3 separate regions of the Homo sapiens genome follow, and all the other regions are linked to region 1. Evidence: promoter capture Hi-C in human tissues and cell types (Jung and others, 2019). All regions are on one chromosome and are shown on one strand. Each heading gives the region's core, a stretch centred on a gene start or on the middle of the fragment in contact. The rest is flanking DNA. Distances are from core to core; before and after follow the strand shown.

Region 1 (2,918 bases), core at 210-2,709:
TGATTATCTAAAATTGTGGAAAACAACTTTATGAACAATAGAACTTACAAGTTCAAGTCATTTTCTGCGACAAACAGATCAAGCCTTATCAGCTATGCCCTAATTGCTAGGAGTGTTTATCGAATATTTTCCTTAGGGTAGATTTTGATAGAGTATCTGCTACCCCCTCACCCCCTCAAGCCTGCACAGGTGGATAGGGGGTGGGTGGACAGGATACTGAGAAACCTTGGCAAGCAGTGGGACTTAGCCCCTGGGCCAGTGAGCACACATGGGAAACTCCACCTCTCCCTGAGCCAGCTCCGGCACTTCTCACCACTGAATCAACGCCCAAGCATGCTATATTCGTTTCTAAGACTTCTTGCTAAACAAAACAAGGAAATAAAAAAAAAAATGTTAAAAGAAAGGAGGTGGGAATACTCAGAGTCAATATAACCATCGCTAACCAAATAAACGGGCTGATGGAGTCAACTCGCTACTGCGTGTAACGGATTGATTTGCTCAGGGTTGAAATGCAAGTGCCGATCGCCTCTCCATATTCGCGGAGTATCTTCCCAGTATCTCCCCTCTCCGACCCTGGGAGGGTGCACCCTTCTGTCTCCGCGGCCACGTCCCCTCGCCCCTTCCCCCTCCTGCCTCCACGCAGCGGATCCGGAGGGGTGTAGGCCGCTCCAGCCCCGGCTGCAGTCTGTGACCCTGACGCAGGTCGAGGGGGGCTAATCCCAGGGGACCTCAAGGGGGCGGGCTGGAGATCCCGAACCTGAGCACCCAGCTGGTGAGCCGGTTTTGCAAGGCGGGGTGGACCTGGAGGAATGTGACCCTCAAACTTAGCAACGACTCACATCTTGCAGTGGCAAATGCCCGGTATCCTGGGCATCCTTGGTGGGGTGGGGTGGGACGCGGAGGGGTGCAACGAAAGCGGACTCCCAGCAGGGGCGACGCGTGGAGGGCGCAGGACAGGGCCCGGGAGGGGTCCTGGGGTCGCAGGTGCGGCCCCGGGAGAGAGGAAGGGCGCACTAGCCGCATACTCAAGACGCAGAGGGAGGGCAGGAGGAGGAGGAGGAGTCGGGGAGAGCGAGAGGGAACCGGAGGGGATTCCGGGAACCGCTGCAGGGAGGCGGCGTTTTCCCTCCAGTCAGCTGGCCACGCGCTCCGCTCCCGCGACCCCGCCACGCTGCGTTACCTTTGCAGCTCTCGCCTTGCGGCTCCCGAGAGATGCTAGCCTCGGGCCCCAGCCGCGCCCGGCTCTGGGACCCGACGCTCGCGGTCAGGATGCGCCTCGCGGGCGGCCTCTCGGACAGAAGCGGCGGGCGGGGGACAAAAGCGGCCCGTGCGGCCGGGTGGTGGTCCGCGGGCTGCGCTCGGGGAACTGTTCGGCTCGCCGGCGGGATTCCTACCCGCCGGGAAGAAGCGTCTTTAGTGCGGGTGCGCGCGCCGAGCCCCGGCCTACGAGGAGCGATACGGAAGCGCGGGCGCCGCGCCGCCGCCGGCGCGGGGGCGGGGGCGGAGCCAGGGGCGGGGCCGGAGCCAGGGGCGGGTCCTGGGCCGCTGGCGGGGCTGGAGCAGGGCCGGAGGCGGAGGCCGGGCCGGGGGCTGGGCAGGAGAATAGAAAAAAGGTCCGGTCATTTACAATCGTCTGCTGCCGATTGTCAGCTCCTAACCAATCCCGCCTTCGCCGAGAAAGCTCCATAGGGGAAGAATTTGGGACTGTTTTGTTTACTGAAGTATCCTTAGGGGTTAGAATAGTGCCTGGCATTTAGAAGACACCCAAAGATGTGTTGACTGACTGAATGAATGAATGAACTAAAGAGTGAATGGGTTCTCTCCTGGCTCCCCCACTTGTTAATTGTATAAACCTGCATGATATAATTCTCCAACTAGTAAAACGAGGATAAAAATACCTACCATTGAGTAAATGTTGTAAATATCTACAACATTATCCGTTGTAGATTCTCCCCTCTTCTCCGCGGGTCTCTTCTCCATACTCCTACCCTTCCCTCGACCCCCCACTGATCAACGTGTTTCGGGATAGGCAGAAAGACAGATGTTCTTCATTAATTTGTCTGCTTGTTATTTATAGCCTGTCAACTTCTAAAATAGACTATGAGGCCGGGAGCGGTGGCTCACACCTGTTATCTCAGCACTTTGGGAGGCCAAGGCAGATGGACCATCTGAGGTCAGGACTTCAAGACCCAGCCTGACCAACATGGTGAAACCCTGTCTGTACTAAAAATACAAAAATTAGCTGGGCGTGGTGGCGGGCGCCTGTAATCCCAGTTACTTGGGAGCCTGAGGCAGGAGAATTGCTTGAACCTGGGAGGTGGAGGTTGCAGTGAGTTGAGATTGCACCATTGCACTCCAGCCTGGGAGACAAGAGCGAAACTCTGTCTCAAGAAAAACGAAAAAAAAAAGAAAATCCAAAACCAAAATAGACTATGAGGCAGCTTTCAAGTAAAATGTATGTATATTCTAAACATTACAGCTACTAAAATGGAAATGTTAATATCTTTTTGAAGGAGAGGGAAAAGATACACTAACCACCTAAATTGTTTTAACTGAGTATTTAATCTCTCGTTCAGCTTTCTGGCCTCCTAGGAAAGGGAGGAGGAGGATGTTTCATACTTTTTGTAGATGGGAAAAATGAGCCTTTTAATCTATGAAGTCAACCAACATTTGCTGATACTCCTTTAAGGCTAGGCACAAGGGTGATCATAAAGAGGATGTCACGGTCCTGCCTCTTATGTGACCCTTGGCAGAATTCCCACCAGCCCCATACGATCTGAAGGGAACTTATCTAGGATCCTATTTCTTATAAAAGACATTCAACATTGAAAATATTTTCAGCCACAGTTTTAGAGAATTTGCAGAAATAGCCTCTGAAAATGGGAGAAATCCAATACCAAACTCCATGTGCTGCATGC
Region 2 (2,918 bases), core at 186-2,685, 280 kb after region 1:
ATGTTGTTCTCACAGAAATGTTAAAAGCTTAAAAGTTTCTTTTCCATAACTCGAAATGCAAGGTTATTCTAATTTTTTCCACATTCCTACAATCTTCTCATCCTGTGTGACGACTGTGGAACAGATCAAATTGAGAGCTGCAAAATGTCCTATATCCACTAACATGTTTCTTTTTTCTTTTTACACTCCAGGTTCTATTTTTCTCAGCCTATTCCGGGATCTGGACACATGAGAGAACAAAACATATGACATCAACTAAAACATCACTCGATTTTCACACCAGTTTTTATACAAGTTGATGTCTTTTGATAACCCTTTAGGATGAAAAGTGCTGACCTGTGTCCCGTCTTCGGACTTTATGTCAAAATGTAGTAGCTGGGTGCGTTGGCTCACCCTTGTAATCCCAGCACTTTGGGAGGCCAAGATGGTTGGATCATGAGGTCAGGAGTTCCAGACCAGCCTGGACAAGATAGTGAAACCCCATCTCTGCTAAAAATACAAAAATTAGCCGGGTGCAGTGGCGGGTGCCTGTAATCCCAGCTACCCGGGAGGCTGAGGCAGGAGAATTGCTTCAACCCAGGAGGCAGAGGTTGCAGTGAGCCGAGATTGCGCCACTGCACTCCAGCCTGGGCAACAGAACAAGACTCCAACTCCCCCCCAAAAAAAAAAAAAAAAAAAAAAGTTAGTTAAATGGAGCCATTTCCCTCCCTGGCTGTTTTATTAATATAATCCCTGGGTAACAGATAATTGTTGGTATATCTCTGCCTTAGGTTGTTACCATTCTTGTACAAGTTGGACTGAACCTAGCAAGGCTGCTATCTCTGCGTCCCAATTTAGTCATTTGTTGCCACACAGTTTCTGTGTTTTCTTTCCTCTCCTGTTCCTTGCAAGTGGCACAGTGAGGCATAAAATTTTTCCTTTAGCCTAGATAATCTGGCGTAATTTTCCTCAATGCTTTCCCTTTCCACAATGGGAGTCAGGTTTCCATTTGAAACAGTTTACTTCTACATAATAAGCCTTCTCTCTCTCTCTAACTCTCTTATTCTCTTTTTTTCAATCCCAGAAAATTTCATTGCAGTTTAGAATCTCAATAAACAGGCTGCTGTTGCCATAAACAATCAGGGGAAAAAAAGTGGTGTTGGCAGAAAATTTAGATCATAATTTGTCTGACGGGACAAAACAGGCATGCCCTCTGCTTTGTCTTTGTGTATATTTGGGGTTATTATCAGTGTTCTGGCTTCTAAAGCATCTTTCTGTGTTAAATACGGGGCTGGACCGTGGAAAATCAAAAAACAAACTGGCATTTGGAAGGGCAATAACTTTCCTCGAAGAAAGGAGACAGCTACCGTTGGCCTATTATTTCAAACTTACTTCTGGTTCTCCACATCTTCCAAGGTAACAAATGAAGATGGTCACCCACCTTCAGTCTCGCAGCAGCAAGAAAGCAACAGAAGCCTTCTCTCCAGGAATTAGTATAGGAAACCTGTTTGCTTTTAAAGTTCCGAGTCCTCCCATAGAGATGAAAGGGGAATTAAAGTGAGTTACCCCTGAGGAATCACCAAAGGAAAAACGGGTTGCTTTATCTGGGCTCTTCAGAACTCTTTAAGACTTGAAGATCTGGATTGAAATCCGTATAATACGTTCATTCACTAAGTCAAGATTAATAGCGTTGGTGTTGTGTCCTCCGGGGAGGGCCTCCAGAAGGCATTTGGAAATAAAGGTTGTCTTACTTTGAAATGCTTCCTCCACAGCACAGAAAAATTGATTTTTCCCCCAGTAAATATTCTTTTGGCATCTGATTTAAAGTCACTAAATGCTTTCCTCGCTAAAGATACCTTTCTCTGTCATCTCTTTCCGTCTCAAATATTGCCGGCTCTCACTGCTTTCTCCCTTCCCTGGCATAACTCTGGTTACAAATAGCCACTAGTGAGTGATATTTTGCTCTCACTTCTTAGCCATCCTATATTTCAAGGTTATCCCATTCTTTAACACTGCCCTTCAGGGTTTTGATAACAATCCTTGAAATCGCTGTATTTAGGACCAGAAATCCTCTAAGCTTGCTTTTCTTCTTAAACATGTTTTAAAATAAAAGTGGAGGGAAATCATTCTGAATTAAAATAGATTTCATATTAAGTTAGTAGCAAAAATGTGGTTTTATTTGCTTTCTGCTTTTTGCCCTGGAAAATGGGATACAGTAAAAATAAAACAGAACCCAAAGCACGATTAAATGAAGCAGGTGGCTCTCTGCAGGTAGTAAAGCAAAGAAGCAACTTGCTTTGGAAAGTTACATTCTGAAATGTACATGACTGTTGGGCAAGCTATGAAGCCTGCTGCATACTTTCAGAAGGACCCCTTCTGCAGGAACCTTCCAAATACAGTTTCAGAATTTTTTTTTCCTTTCACAATCTTTCATTCTTTCTTTGCATCTGGTTATGGTCCATTTTTAGTGGTTACTTTTTGCACGTTGGGAAGATTTTACTTTTCAAAGGCCTAAAACTGATGGCAATGCCTGTTGGCTCATTCTAAACCACCCAGACTGCGACCAGGGTTTCAGTCTGGGTTGTGCATGGGGCGATAAATCCTGGCGAAGCAGCCCTAATCCTCTACAAACCCCTGCTGCAAATTCTGTCCCTGCCATTGTGTTTTCTAACCAACTTGGGGGAATACCATATTGATCCTAAAAATGGGCAGCTTCTTAGCTTGCAAGTGGCTCCCTTTAAGAAGCACAGAGAACACGGCCTCAGGAAGCAGGGATTGCATCTCAGGGCAAAAGAAAGGGATGAGGTAAGACCCCGCAGAGGAATGCTGCCTGATGTGTGTGCTGGTTATTGTGAGTTGGTTCAGTGTTTCTGTCAGCTGTTTTACTGGTGTCTGATTAATCCCGCTGGTCACCAGGGGTAAGCCAGGGTTTCATCTGA
Region 3 (2,918 bases), core at 278-2,777, 270 kb before region 1:
CTGCCAGGCCAACATGGTGAAATGCCATCTCTACTAAAAATACAAAAATTAGCCGGGCATGGTGGCCCTTGCCCGTAATCCCAGCTACTCTGGAAGCTGAAGCAGGAGAACCACTTGAACCTGGAAGGTGGAGGTTGCATTGAGCTGGGATTACACCACTGCACTCCAGCCTGGGTGACGGAGTGAGACCTTGTCTCAAAAATAATAAGAAGTAGAAGAAAGAAAGGGCCGGGCGCGGTGGCTCACGCCTGTAATCCCAACACTTTGGGAGGCCGAGGTGGGTGGACCACTTGAGGTCAGGAGTTTGAGACCAGCCTGGCCAACATGCTGAAACCCCATCTCTACTAAAAATACAAAAATTAGCCAGGCATGGAGCATGTGCCTGTAGTCCCAGCTCCTCGGGAGGCTGAAGCCTGCAGGAGGACTGCTTGAGCCCTGGAGGCGGAGGTTGCAGTGAGCCGAGATCACGCCACTGCACTCCAGCCTGGGCGACAGAGGGGAACTTCGTCTCAAAAAAAAAAAAAAAAATTAGCCAGGTGTGGTGGCACACACATGTAGTCCCAGCTACTTGGGAGGCTGAGGTGGGAGGATCACTTGAGCCTAGGAGGTTGAGTGCAATCGAGCTGAGATCATGCCACTACACTCCAGCCTGGGCAACAAAGTGAGACCCTGTCTCTAAAACTAATAATAATAACTGAGGCCGAGCACGGTGGCTCACGCCTGTAATCTCAGCACTTTGGGAGGTCGAGGCAGGCGGATCACTTGAGGTCAGGAGTTCAAGACCTGCCTGGCCAAAATGGTGAAATCCCGTCTCTATTAAAAATACAAAAATTAGCTGGGCATGGTGGCAGGTGCCTCTAATCCCAGCTACTTGGGAGAGTGAAGCAGGAGAATCGTTGGAACCTGGGAGGTGGAGGTTGCAGTGAGACGAGATGGCACCATTGCACTTCAGCCTGAGTGGCAGAGCAAGACTCTGTCTCAAAAAAAAAAAAAAAAAAATCCTAATAATAATGAATAACATTTAATAAGGAAATGTCCAGAATAGGCAAATCCAGAAGACAGAAAATAGATTAGTTGTTGCCTAAGGTGGATAGAGGTATTTGGGGTGACAAAAAAAGGGTACAGGGGTTTTTGTTTGAGTGATGAAAATGTTCTAGAATTGATTGCAGTGATAGTTGCACAACCACAAGAATGTACTGAAAGCCATTGAATGTACATGTCAAATTCATGATTGCATGGCATATGAATTATATCTCTAAAACTGTTTCCCAAAAGGAGAGACCCAACTTGTCTGTCACTCAAAAAAAACAAATCAATTTTTTTTCTTTTTCAGATGGAGTTTCACTCTGTTACCCAGGCTGGAGTGGAGTAGCGCGATCTCAGCTTACTGCAACCTCTGCCTCCCGGGTTCAAGGGATTCTCCTGCTTCAGCCTCCTGAATAGCTGAGATTATAGGTGTTTACCACCATGCCCAGCTAATTTTTGTACTTTTAGTAGAGACGGGGTTTCACTATGCTGGCCAGGCTGGTCTGGAACTCCCCACCTCAAGCAATCTGCCCACCTCGGCCTCCCAAAGTGTTGGGATTATAGGCATGAGCCACCGCGCCTGGCCTAAAAAAAAAAAAAAAAATCTTTTTTTATAAAAAATTTGATTCATAGTTTTTTTAAATACAACGAGTACATTGAACATGCTTCACATTCAGAACATGAAGTCTTTTAAATGAATATAGGTAGAACTTCCAACTTCCAGGCTTTGTAACAGAAATCATATTAAAGACTCAGTAGCAAGCCTAATCCTCAAATCCCCCATCTGTTAACCTGATAATCCTCATGTGTAAACTTATTTAAGAAGCTAACTCCTGAGCCACCTGTATTCTGAGCATTGCAATAAAGATGTGAAGATTTTAATATTACAAGTTGATTTTGCTTTATAAAATGAAAGTTTCATGAATTGAAATATCTGTGGACACTGAAACCTCAACAACAATTTTTTTTTTTTTTTTGAGTCAGAGTCTCACTCTGTCACCAAGGCTGGAGTGCAGTGGTGCAATCTCGGCTCACTGCAAACTCTGCCTCCCCGATTCAAGCAATTCTCTGCCTCAGCCTCCCAAGTAGCTGGGATTACAGGAACCCGCTACCACGCCCGGCTAATTTTTGTATTTTTAGTAGAGATGGGGTTTCACCATCTTGGCCAGGCTGGTCTCTAACTCCTGACCTCGTGATCCACCTGCCTCGGCCTCCCAAATTGCTGGGATTACAGGCGTGAGCCACCACACCCAGGCTTTTTTTTGTTTTGTTTTGTTTTGTTTTTTGTTTTGTTGAGACGGAGTCTAGCTCTGTCGCCCAGACTGGAGTGCAGTGGCAAGATCTCAGCTCACTGCAACCTATGCCTCCCGGGTTCAAGTGATTCTCCTGCCTCAGCCTCCCAGGTAGCTGGGATTACAGGCACGCGCCACCACGCCCAGCTAATTTTTGTATTTTTAGTAGAGATGGGGTTTCTCCATGTTGGTCAGGCTGGTCTCGAACTCCCGACCTCAGGTGATCTGCCGGCCTTGGCCTCCCAAAGTTCTGGGATTACAAACAGCCACCATGCCCGGACTCCCAGCTAATTTTTATATTTTCAGTAGAGACAGGGTTTCACCATGTTGGCCAGTCTGGTCTCGAACTCCTGACCTCAGGTGATCCGCCCACTTCAGCCTCCCAAAGTGCTGGGATTACAGGCATGAGCCACCGCACCTGGCCCCAAACAGCATTTTAAATTTCCGACATCACCAAACTCCAGAAAGTCACAGGAAAAAAAAATAGTTGTTATAACAATATCACTCAACTCCTTGAATGCTTCAGTTATATGCACCAGGAAAATCTACCACTGAAAATCATTTCAAATGAAATATTCAGCTGAGGAGTCTATTAGATCC

The links. Contacts are between HindIII fragments. The study calls those that stand out against the background at their distance.
Region 2: a contact is called between a fragment that was not itself captured here and the fragment with the promoter of IFNAR2 in region 1, in 1 of the 25 tissues and cell types used here (stomach).
Region 3: a fragment that was not itself captured here is called in contact with the fragment with the promoter of IFNAR2 in region 1 in 1 of the 25 tissues and cell types used here (lymphoblastoid cells).

What each region holds. Positions count from the first base shown.
Region 1 is chr21:33,228,479-33,231,396 of GRCh38, reverse strand. It overlaps IFNAR2 (interferon alpha and beta receptor subunit 2), which reads right to left and starts at 1,459. Exons shown (of 9, transcript NM_001289125.3): 1 at 1,181-1,459. It overlaps IFNAR2-IL10RB (IFNAR2-IL10RB readthrough), which reads right to left and starts at 1,459. Exons shown (of 13, transcript NM_001414505.1): 1 at 1,181-1,459. RefSeq lists silencers at 993-1,042, 1,063-1,122, 1,183-1,642. The HindIII fragment of the contact is 14,450 bases long and covers 1-2,918 here.
Region 2 is chr21:32,951,036-32,953,953 of GRCh38, reverse strand. No RefSeq gene overlaps it. Among named protein-coding and RNA genes, the nearest start is that of LINC01690, 6.4 kb to the left of the region's middle. The HindIII fragment of the contact is 5,013 bases long and covers 1-2,918 here.
Region 3 is chr21:33,497,513-33,500,430 of GRCh38, reverse strand. No RefSeq gene overlaps it. Among named protein-coding and RNA genes, the nearest start is that of DNAJC28, 7.3 kb to the right of the region's middle. The HindIII fragment of the contact is 5,228 bases long and covers 1-2,918 here.